Regions from separate parts of the Homo sapiens genome. Here region 1 is linked to region 2. The links are contacts of gene promoters, found by promoter capture Hi-C in blood cells and fetal thymus (Javierre and others, 2016). All regions are on one chromosome and are shown on one strand. Each heading gives the region's core, a stretch centred on a gene start or on the middle of the fragment in contact. The rest is flanking DNA. Distances are from core to core; before and after follow the strand shown.

The links. Contacts are between HindIII fragments. The CHiCAGO score rates a contact against its expected background, and 5 or more counts as called.
Region 1: a fragment that was not itself captured here is called in contact with the fragment with the promoter of WNT9A in region 2 in 3 of 17 cell types (total CD8 T cells, naive CD4 T cells and M1 macrophages); the score reaches 6.6 in total CD8 T cells.

What each region holds. Positions count from the first base shown.
Region 1 is chr1:227,760,202-227,764,511 of GRCh38, forward strand. The region is part of intron 3 of SNAP47 (synaptosome associated protein 47); the gene reads left to right. Among named protein-coding and RNA genes, the nearest start is that of SNAP47, 27 kb to the left of the region's middle. RefSeq lists enhancers at 1,267-2,017, 2,201-2,350, 2,671-2,760. The HindIII fragment of the contact is 5,154 bases long and covers 1-3,994 here.
Region 2 is chr1:227,945,917-227,950,156 of GRCh38, forward strand. WNT9A (Wnt family member 9A) reads right to left here and starts at 2,016. Exons shown (of 4, transcript NM_003395.4): 1 at 1,877-2,016. The coding sequence starts at 1,971. It overlaps LOC124904533 (a long non-coding RNA gene), which reads left to right. Exons shown (of 2, transcript XR_007066912.1): 1 at 1-511; 2 at 786-1,387. RefSeq lists silencers at 838-947, 2,051-2,130 and an enhancer at 1,921-1,970. The HindIII fragment of the contact is 8,120 bases long and covers 1-2,527 here.

The DNA of each region.
Region 1 (4,310 bases), core at 168-2,667, 190 kb before region 2:
GTTGTCTCTGTCATCTCCCCTCATTTTGATGTGGGAACCAGCACCTCAGGATTGTTACTGGCACCATCTCCACTTCCCCTGGTGGGGCCATTCCCATCACCCCTACTTTGCCCACTCTTGTTTCCCTGGGCATTTAATCTAGGTTTTCCTAGCCTGGCGCCCAAACATGCTATTAGGGATCTGTGTGTTGGAGAACTGTGCAGCGTGGTTCTGTGTGTTTGTGGCATTCTCAGATGTGTGTGGAGTGGCCATGGTACCTTCCCGCAGACTCCATTGTAGATTGTGAATGCTCAGCTGGCCTGTCCTGGGGGCCGGGCTGAGGGGCAGACACCCTGGGTCTTGGCACGTCCACCACGTTTGGCCTACCTCCTCCCTAGCACAGGACCGAGGCTTATGTGCTAGGAGCCGCCATGGTCCTGCCCGTCTGATGGGAGGCTGGTGGCCTCTTGGTGTTATTCTTGCCTTTACCCTTTCCTTGGTTAGGAGGTGGGGCCTCTGATGCGTTGTATTTGTTTTGGCCCTGCAGGTTTTGCTCTATGGATGGCCTGTTCTGTTTTCTTCTTTCCTCATGTGCTTTCTTCCCCCACAGATGTGCACGACTTTCCTACTATCCTAGTCCATCAGCCTTGGCTGGCTTTAGAGGCTATAGCCACTTCCTCTAGAGTCTCTTCCTCCCTTACAGAAATCTTTTATCTTGCCATGGTAAAATCCACCGATTTTCCCCTGCAGTTTGTCTTCGAGCTCTGATTAAGAAATCTGAATGTCATAAAAGACTCCATTTTCTAATATTAGCATTATAGCTAATACGCATGCATGTATACATATGTACACATGTGTATCAATGCCTATGTATTGTGCATGTATGTGACATGTACGTCCACACTATAATGCGTGTCTATACGTACAGCATGTAAAGCTGTATTCTTCAGGATTTTAAATGCCAGGTGTCTGTTAAAAGTAAGAGATATTTGCTACCCTTTCGGTTTCTCTAATTTTTCTCTTAAGAGAAAGATTTCAGTTCCTATAACCTGTTTCTCTAACATGAAAATGTTTTGCTTGCTATTCCAGATGGCTTCAAGTTTCGGAAAGAAATACACATAATAATAGATTGAGTCCCATGAGCCCCAGGGCTGAATACACACCCTAAAAATGAAAGGTGCACACCTTAGATATGCAGCACGTAGTTGAATCACAGAAAACCTACCACCTTTCTGTATATGTCTTAAAGTCAGGGGTTGCAAAGAGAGGCATTGACCCCTATGGAATGGAGCATGTGGTGTGAAATGTAATGAAATCCATTGATCAAGATGAGATCAAAGGTCACCATGAGCTGCTGTCACTAAAGTGCAGGCCTGAACCCGAGTGTCCTAGTGGGAGACAGGCTACAGAAGCATAGGAAGCAGAGGTCTTCACCCACATTCAAGGTAAATGGTACAGGCGTACTCCTGCACGTGGCTTCAGGGAGGAGGTATGTGACGTGCTGTGGACTGGTGGTGTGGGGACTGAAGAGGGGTCCCTGGGTATGTGTGGCGTCAGGCAGGAAGTTTGTGACATTCTGTGGAGTTCAGGACTGCTCTCCAGGGTCCCAGTAGAGAAGCACTCAGTGTGTTTAGTGGCCCTGCCATGTTGCCGACCTGGCTGCACCGTGGTGGCGAGCACTCCTGTGTTCCGCAGGCTGGTGTTTGTAAGTGGGTTCCTGCAATCTGTGCCGTTTGAGGTCAGAGGGCTATCACCTTTTCTGGGGGCCTCAACGTGCATTCAGGATTCAGGACTGATGGCGTCACCCTCCCTGCTCGGCTAGGAGGGCCCCCTTAGTTCAGGTCACCTGAGTGTGGGTTGTAGCCACAGCGAGCACCGTCTTTTCACTTGCACAGCTGCACCCGGCCCGTGGTGTTTTGAGTACCTGGGGCAGCCATCTTGCCATGTGGCACACACAGCACACAGTCCCACAGGGACCTGCTGCATGTGTGAGATGGACTGTTGCTCCTGTGGGGGACTGTTGTGCCACCTTTCCGTGCTCACTTTCACCCCCATGGGCAACCTGGCCTGTCCAGGTAAGTGCTGGTCTCATGGGGGCAGCTGTGCCTCCAGAGGGTGTTCTTGAAGAGGCTCCATGCAGGGGTTGGAGCGTGTGGTGCCCTGCCTGGTGCTATGTTAGCAAGAAGGCGGCGCCCCGTTTGATGGGAGCTCAGTAGTCTGTGGGGCACTTGTGGCTCTGAGGCCTTGCCTCTGCCTGCCGCCTGCTGCTGTTGTCCATGCGTAGGCACAGGGACTCTGTGCCAGCTTCCCTGTGTTTACTGCTCTCAGCTGGAAACTGTGGGCTCCCTGGAGGTGGAAACCATGACGGATGTCTCAGAAATCCCTGCCTCTGGGACGAGCGCTGGTGCACGTGTGGCCACAGGGTGGCAGCCTCGCGACACCGGATGGGCGCTTGTCAGGGAGGGACACCCGGGGCGGGGAGCCTTTCCAGAGACCTCTGCAGGGCTGCGTGCCAAGTGCACGTTTTATTTTATTCTAGACACTCGTCCTTGCGTTGAGGAGCACCCAGGACCGCACAATCACCCTCCTCACATGTCTCTGGGCCCTGTGGCTTCTGACAGCCTTCTGGAGGCTGGGCCAGGGCTTGCACAGCAGCCTCTGTCTCAGATTTTCTTGCAGTCGGCCTGGGCTGTGGTTTGGGAGGAAGGCCACAGGGTGAGGTTTCCTTCCCACACATCCTACCAAGGGACATGCACAGTATTTTCTTTTTCTTTTTATTTATTTTTTTCTTTTAGAGACAGGGCCTTGCCCTGTCATCCAGGCTGGAGTGCAGAGGTGCAATCATAGCTCACTGTAACTTCAATCTCCTGGGCCCAAGACATCCTCCTGCCTTGGCCTCTCAAGTAGCTGGGACTATAGGCACATATCACCATGCCCAGCTAATTTTTTTTTTTTTTAATTATGGGGTCTTGCCGTGTTGCCTAGGCTGGTCTTGAACTCCTGGGCTCAAGTGATCCTCTCACCTCAGCCTCCCAGAGTGCTGGGATTTCAGGCGTGAGCCTCTACCCTGCTGTGCACAGCGTATTTGAAGGCTGTTTGATCACTGAGATTTTTCTTTGTCACTCACTGCCTGTCTTGGGGGTAAGGCCTGCCTGGGCTTCCAGCTCCCTGATGACAGCCTTGCCTGTACCTCTGCTTCCCCGGGCCGTGTGTCTGTCTGCACAGCAGCACCAGCAGCAGGACAGGGCAGGAGGCAGGCGGATGCAGTGGGCAGTTAGTAAAGGACCAGAGCATTGGGGTGGCTGAGGTTGTCTCTGCAGTTCGTTAGTGCCAGGCGTCTTTTGAGGCAGGGAAGTTCCCACTGGAGCTGAAGCACCCAGGAGCCTGCTGTGGCACCGCGGGCTCGGGTTGGGCTGACTGGGGAGCCTGGGGGTACTGCATCAGCTGGCCTGGAGCCTATCAGAGGATGCCGCTCAGCCCCCACCTGCGCGTGCGTATTGGTTGAGTGGGAGATGGAGCACACAAGCTGCTGTCTCCTCCATTCAGCTCCCTACGCTGTCCTTACCTGTGCGCTAGCTTCACAGGCCCACTAGGCCCAGCAGAGGCCTTTCCTGGGTGACAGGTGAGTGTTGGAGGCCAGGGCTGAGGGAAGGGGCTTGCTGGAGACAGACAGGCTGGTGGCCCAGGTCCCCGCTCCCAGGCAGGTGCAGGCAGCCCCTCCTCAGCACTGGCAGTGAAGACAGAGCTGTGTCTTGCACAGGGGCCTGTGGCCTCAGGGCACTCTCTTTCCAGATGACCAAGACATTCTGCAGCCAGCAGTGTGCCCTGGGCTCTTCCTGGGCTGGCTTCCTGCACCCCCAGGCCAGCAAGGCTGTGCATAGGTGTCTGGAACACTTCCTACTCCCGGACAGTCGAGTCACCCCACCCTTCTTGCTGTGAACCACCTGTGATGCTTTTGTTTAATTGCAGTCACTCATGACCCCAAGGCAGAAACCATCCTTACAGAACCAAATTAAGCTTTCCTGGAAGAAATGTTAAAAAGAGTGACTCAGCAGCTCCACGAGCACTGTGGCTCTGGAGATGGCAGCATGCAGCCTCACCAGGATCCCAGCCACCGCGCCCAGCAGAAACATCCATGGCTTGAGGCGTAAGAATTCTGTCCAGCCTTCTGAGTGTTTAAGCAAAGTCCTATTTGTTAAAATTCCAGAACGGCCTGAGTGTCTCTGTCACGCAGCCTCAGGTGCTGAAATGAAAGCCATGTCGTAGGTAGGGAGGCCCAGGGGCTCTGCCCTGAAGAGCCTGTGTCGGCTGGGCACGGTGGTTCATGCCTG
Region 2 (4,240 bases), core at 766-3,265:
GTTCAGGAAGGTGCTCATTCTCCATCAGTCAAACAGAGTCCTAGCTGCCCTCTGCAATGCCAGCTGTCCCCAAAGGCAGCACACTTGCCCTCTGGACTTCCCACAGGGCAGCTACATGGAGAGCTGCCCTCAGACAGGACTCAGGAATTCTCCCTTGATGGGTCCTTTGGAGCCAAGAAGCAGGGCCAAGGGGGCCTGGCCAGAGAAGCCACAACAGCACTTAAGTCCTTGCTATGCGCCTGGCACCAGCCTGGACTTACTGTCTGCAAGAGAGCTGAAACACACGCACACAAAGCAGCAGAGCCCCTTGACCTTCTCTAGGGCACAAAGCCCAGAGATAGGTCAGAGAAGGAGAGGCCAAGACCCAGCGCCACCCCGTCTCCAGGAATCGGATCACAGCAGGGACAAAGCCGCTGCAGCCTGGACAAGCCCAGGGTGTGTCCCCAGCCCAAGAAGCAGAGCCTCCGCTGGGCCGGAGAGCAGGGAAGCACAGCTGGCTGACAAGGCCACGGTGAGTCACCGCGGACCTGTGGCCCTCCCTCCTGCCCTCCCGGGTGAGGCTACGGGTTGCACAGATGGCGTGCAGTGGCGTGCCAGCCCAGGCCCAGGGCCGTACCCACAGTTGGAGCCAGGAGAGGGCTGCGGGTGGGGGCCCCAGGGAACTGAGACACCGGGCTGACCCTGGAAGACGACCCAGAAGAAAGGAACAGAGAGAAGAAAGGGAGAGAAAGAAAAACACAAAGGGAAAGTTTCCCATGAAAATATTTTATTTTCTTTGAGAACAGGATACACCTGCAGGGCTCCTCGGCCCAGGCGGCCTCTCCCTGCCCGGGCGGGTGCCAGATTCCTGGACCAACGGGGCCCTCTGCCGGCCAGCCCGCCGCGCGCTGGCGCTCAGGCCAGAGGGCCGGGAACAGGTGACCGGCGGAGGGCGGCGGCCCGGCTGAGGGAGCGGCCCAGGGCGTCCAGGTCGGGGGCTGGGATCCGAAGGCCAGCCAGGGCTCCCAGCGGCGGCGCTCGGGGTAGGAGGCTGGAGGGTGGCGGGGAGGCCCGGGGCGCTGCCTCGCACGGCGCCACCCTGCACCTCAGCGCGCCCAAAGCGCAGCGAGGGTCCCTGTAAAGGTCGCAGGACTGGGCATCCCAGACCTCAGAGAGGGGGAGGGAAGAAGGAAGGGAAAGAAAGGAAGAGAGAGACGCGCCGACAGCCCGGCAAAGCGCTGCTGCAGAGACACGTGAGCACGGGCAATGACACCGCGGGACGCCCCGGCCGGGCCCTGCGCTCCCGGCCAGGTTCCATGGACGCGCTCCCGCGGGCCGGGGCCCGGGCCACAGAGTCAGAAGCAAAGCGCAAGAAAAATAAATTCCTCCAGCTTGGAGGATTTCTCTCTTTCTCTCTCTCTCTCCGTTTGGGGCTCAGCGCGAGGAACATCTGGATTTTGTACGTATTTTTGTTATTGTTAAATTAACTTCTCGAGAAGAGAAAGGGGGGGAAGCTGCTAGGTGGGCGATGGCCAGGGGCTGAGGACTCAGGCTCCAGCCTTTTGGCAAGGACACGGCGGCCCAAGGAAGTCGGGACCTGATCCCAGTCCCTAAGCGCGAGGCAGTCCTGCTCACGGCGGCGACTACGACGACGACGACTCTGCGGTCACGGAGGACCGCGGCCCGGCGCAAGCCGGACGGGTCCACCCGCCTCTCTAGCCGTGCCGCGCAGCGGACGGAGCGACGCGCGCGCCGCAAACAAACAGCGCCAGGCAACCCGGCGGCCCCGCCGCGCCCCGGCCCCAGCCACCCCGGGTGCCTCGGGGACTCCGGACGACCCCGCCCCGGCCCCGCCGCCCCCGCCCACCAGTGCGCGCCGGCCGCCGAAGGCACCTACCCGAAGTAGGCGGCCGAAGGGCGCAGCGCGGCGAGCAGCAGCGTCAGCCCGAAGGCCGCGGCCAGCCAGCGCGCCAGCGGGGACCCATCCAGCATCTTGCCGCGCCTCGGCGGCCGACCATCGCGCTCCCAGCTCCGCGCAGGGCGCGCCGCGGCCGCCGCCCTCTTATAGCGCCCGGAGCGCGGCCAGCTGGGCCCGGCCCCGCCCCGCGCCCGGGAGGGGATCACGCCGGCGCCGGGGGCGGGCCGAAACCCGAGCCGCGCGCGCCAGCCCGCCAGCCCCTCCCGGCCACTCGGGGCCCCGGCCGCCGCTCCCGGCGCGGGTCTCGGGCGCGCCCTGCCCGGCGGGGATGGAGGAAGGGGAGGCGGAGAGCGGTGGGAACCGAGGGCGGGGCGTGCGAGAACCCGGGGCGACCACGGCGGGACGGCATTGGGGGGCCGGAGGCGGGCATCGGGAAGCGGGTAGAGCGTTGGGGGCGCTGCAGTGGGAGCTTGGGGCGGCCCCCGGGGCGGGATTGAGGGGGAGGGGAGGGGAGGCGTTGGCCGCCGGGCTAGCCGCCGGCGGGGCTCCAGGCCGGGACGGTCGGGGATGGTTCCACAGAGGACCCAGCCGTCTGCCCCGAGCTGGGCGCTGCGCGGCTGCTCCGGGGGAAGCTTGGTGAGGAGGAGTCGGGCCAGCCGGTGATGCCTGCGCCTCTTGCGCATGCTGACCCCCTCAAGGAGCGGGGCCAGAGAATCGCTCCTTTCTGGCAGGGACTGTGGCCGCTTTCGGCCTGGGAATGAAGCGACGTAGCCTGCTGGGGCTGTGAGGTGAGTAGCTCTACCTTTTGGGGTCCTGATGGTCTCCCCATTCTTAAATTGTGGGAGTGGAGCTAGCGGCTAAGTCAATGAAACACCAGCCATCGGGCAACGCCCTTCTCAGAGCCTGTGTCCTGGCCGGGACGGGGAGAAAGAGGACTCCTGGGATGGAAGGTGCACACCCAGGCAGCTGGAAGCGCTCAGTCACAGCCCGGGGACTCGTCCCCTCTGCGATACGGATTCGGAGCTGCTTCTGAAGCAGAATGGTGTCAGAGGACCCAGAGCTGGCATTAGGATACAGGTGCACACATTCCAGACAGACCTGGGGGTGGCATCCAGGAGAAGGCTTATAAGTTCCCTGGATGGGGCCTCTGTGCCATGCAACAAGGGACACAAGAACAGGGCTTGGGGTCCAGGCTGGCGGTGGCATGCCTGCCACCTGCAGACCCTGGTCAGTGCAGGATGGTGCCTCCAACACGGGCTAGGCTGCCAAGGCTGAGGACACAGGGCCAGCGAGCCTGCCCAGCCACGTGCTGCAGGGGCCTCAGAGACCTGGGCTGCGGTGCCAGGTCTCTAGGCAGTGCCCTCTGTGCCTGCAGGGACTGATTCTGGCACAGTGACCGCAGAACCTGGGGGGCGGAGCACATGCCCCCGGAAGGCTGTGAAATCCCGCCAGTGGCAGTGACAGAGGCGAATATGAGGGTCCTCAGAGGAAAAACAAAGAAGATAGGAGCAGCAGAAAATGGCCCCCACGAGGATCTGAGCCAACCTCGCCACCCCTAGGGCTCCCGGCCCTGCTTCCCTGGGAAAGCCTGGCCATGTGGGTCACCCCTGTGAGCATACCCTTTCTGAGTGTCTGATGGCCAGTTTGCCAGGTGAGCTTCAGGTGCATGTGGGGCAAAGCAAGGGTGGGGAAGGGAGGAGACCGGGCCTGAGCAGTCACTCCCTCTCGGGGCCTCGGTTTCCCCATCTGAGACCCATCCAACTCCAGCGAGTGGTGGCTTTTCTCCAAGGCATGATGTCCTGTGTGGGAGCCCTGGCCCCTGGTTCTGCTTTTCCACTAGGTGTGACTGGTCTCACATCCTTCCCCATCCATAGGACCCCCCTCCTGTGGGGAGAGGGCACTTGTTTGTCCTCTTTTGCTCAGGGGGCTGGGCCACCTCCCTTGAAATGGGGCTGACTCAGCAGAGGGAGTGCAGACGGCAGCCCAGCCCACCCAGGCTGCAGCGACCCCAGTGGGAGGCCCACCCGCCCCACGGCCATGGGCTCCAGTGAGCCCCCAAAGTCTGGCTCCAGCACCAGGAAGTGAGAGGCAGCAGAGGGAAGCAGACAGGACGGGAGACCCTCCCCACCCCCCACACACCCCCCTGCAATGATGGCATGCTTAAAGGCATGGAGGCTGCCTCCAAGAAGACGTGTGAGATTGTAAATGTGCATCACAAGCGCCTCCGGCATCACAGAGCTCCCTTCCACTGGGGGTGAAGCACTCTCCCAGCAGCAGCTTAGTGGTCCCCAAGGAAGGAGGCAGCTGCCTGGCCGGCTGAGGGGCAGGGGGCTCTAGTCCCAG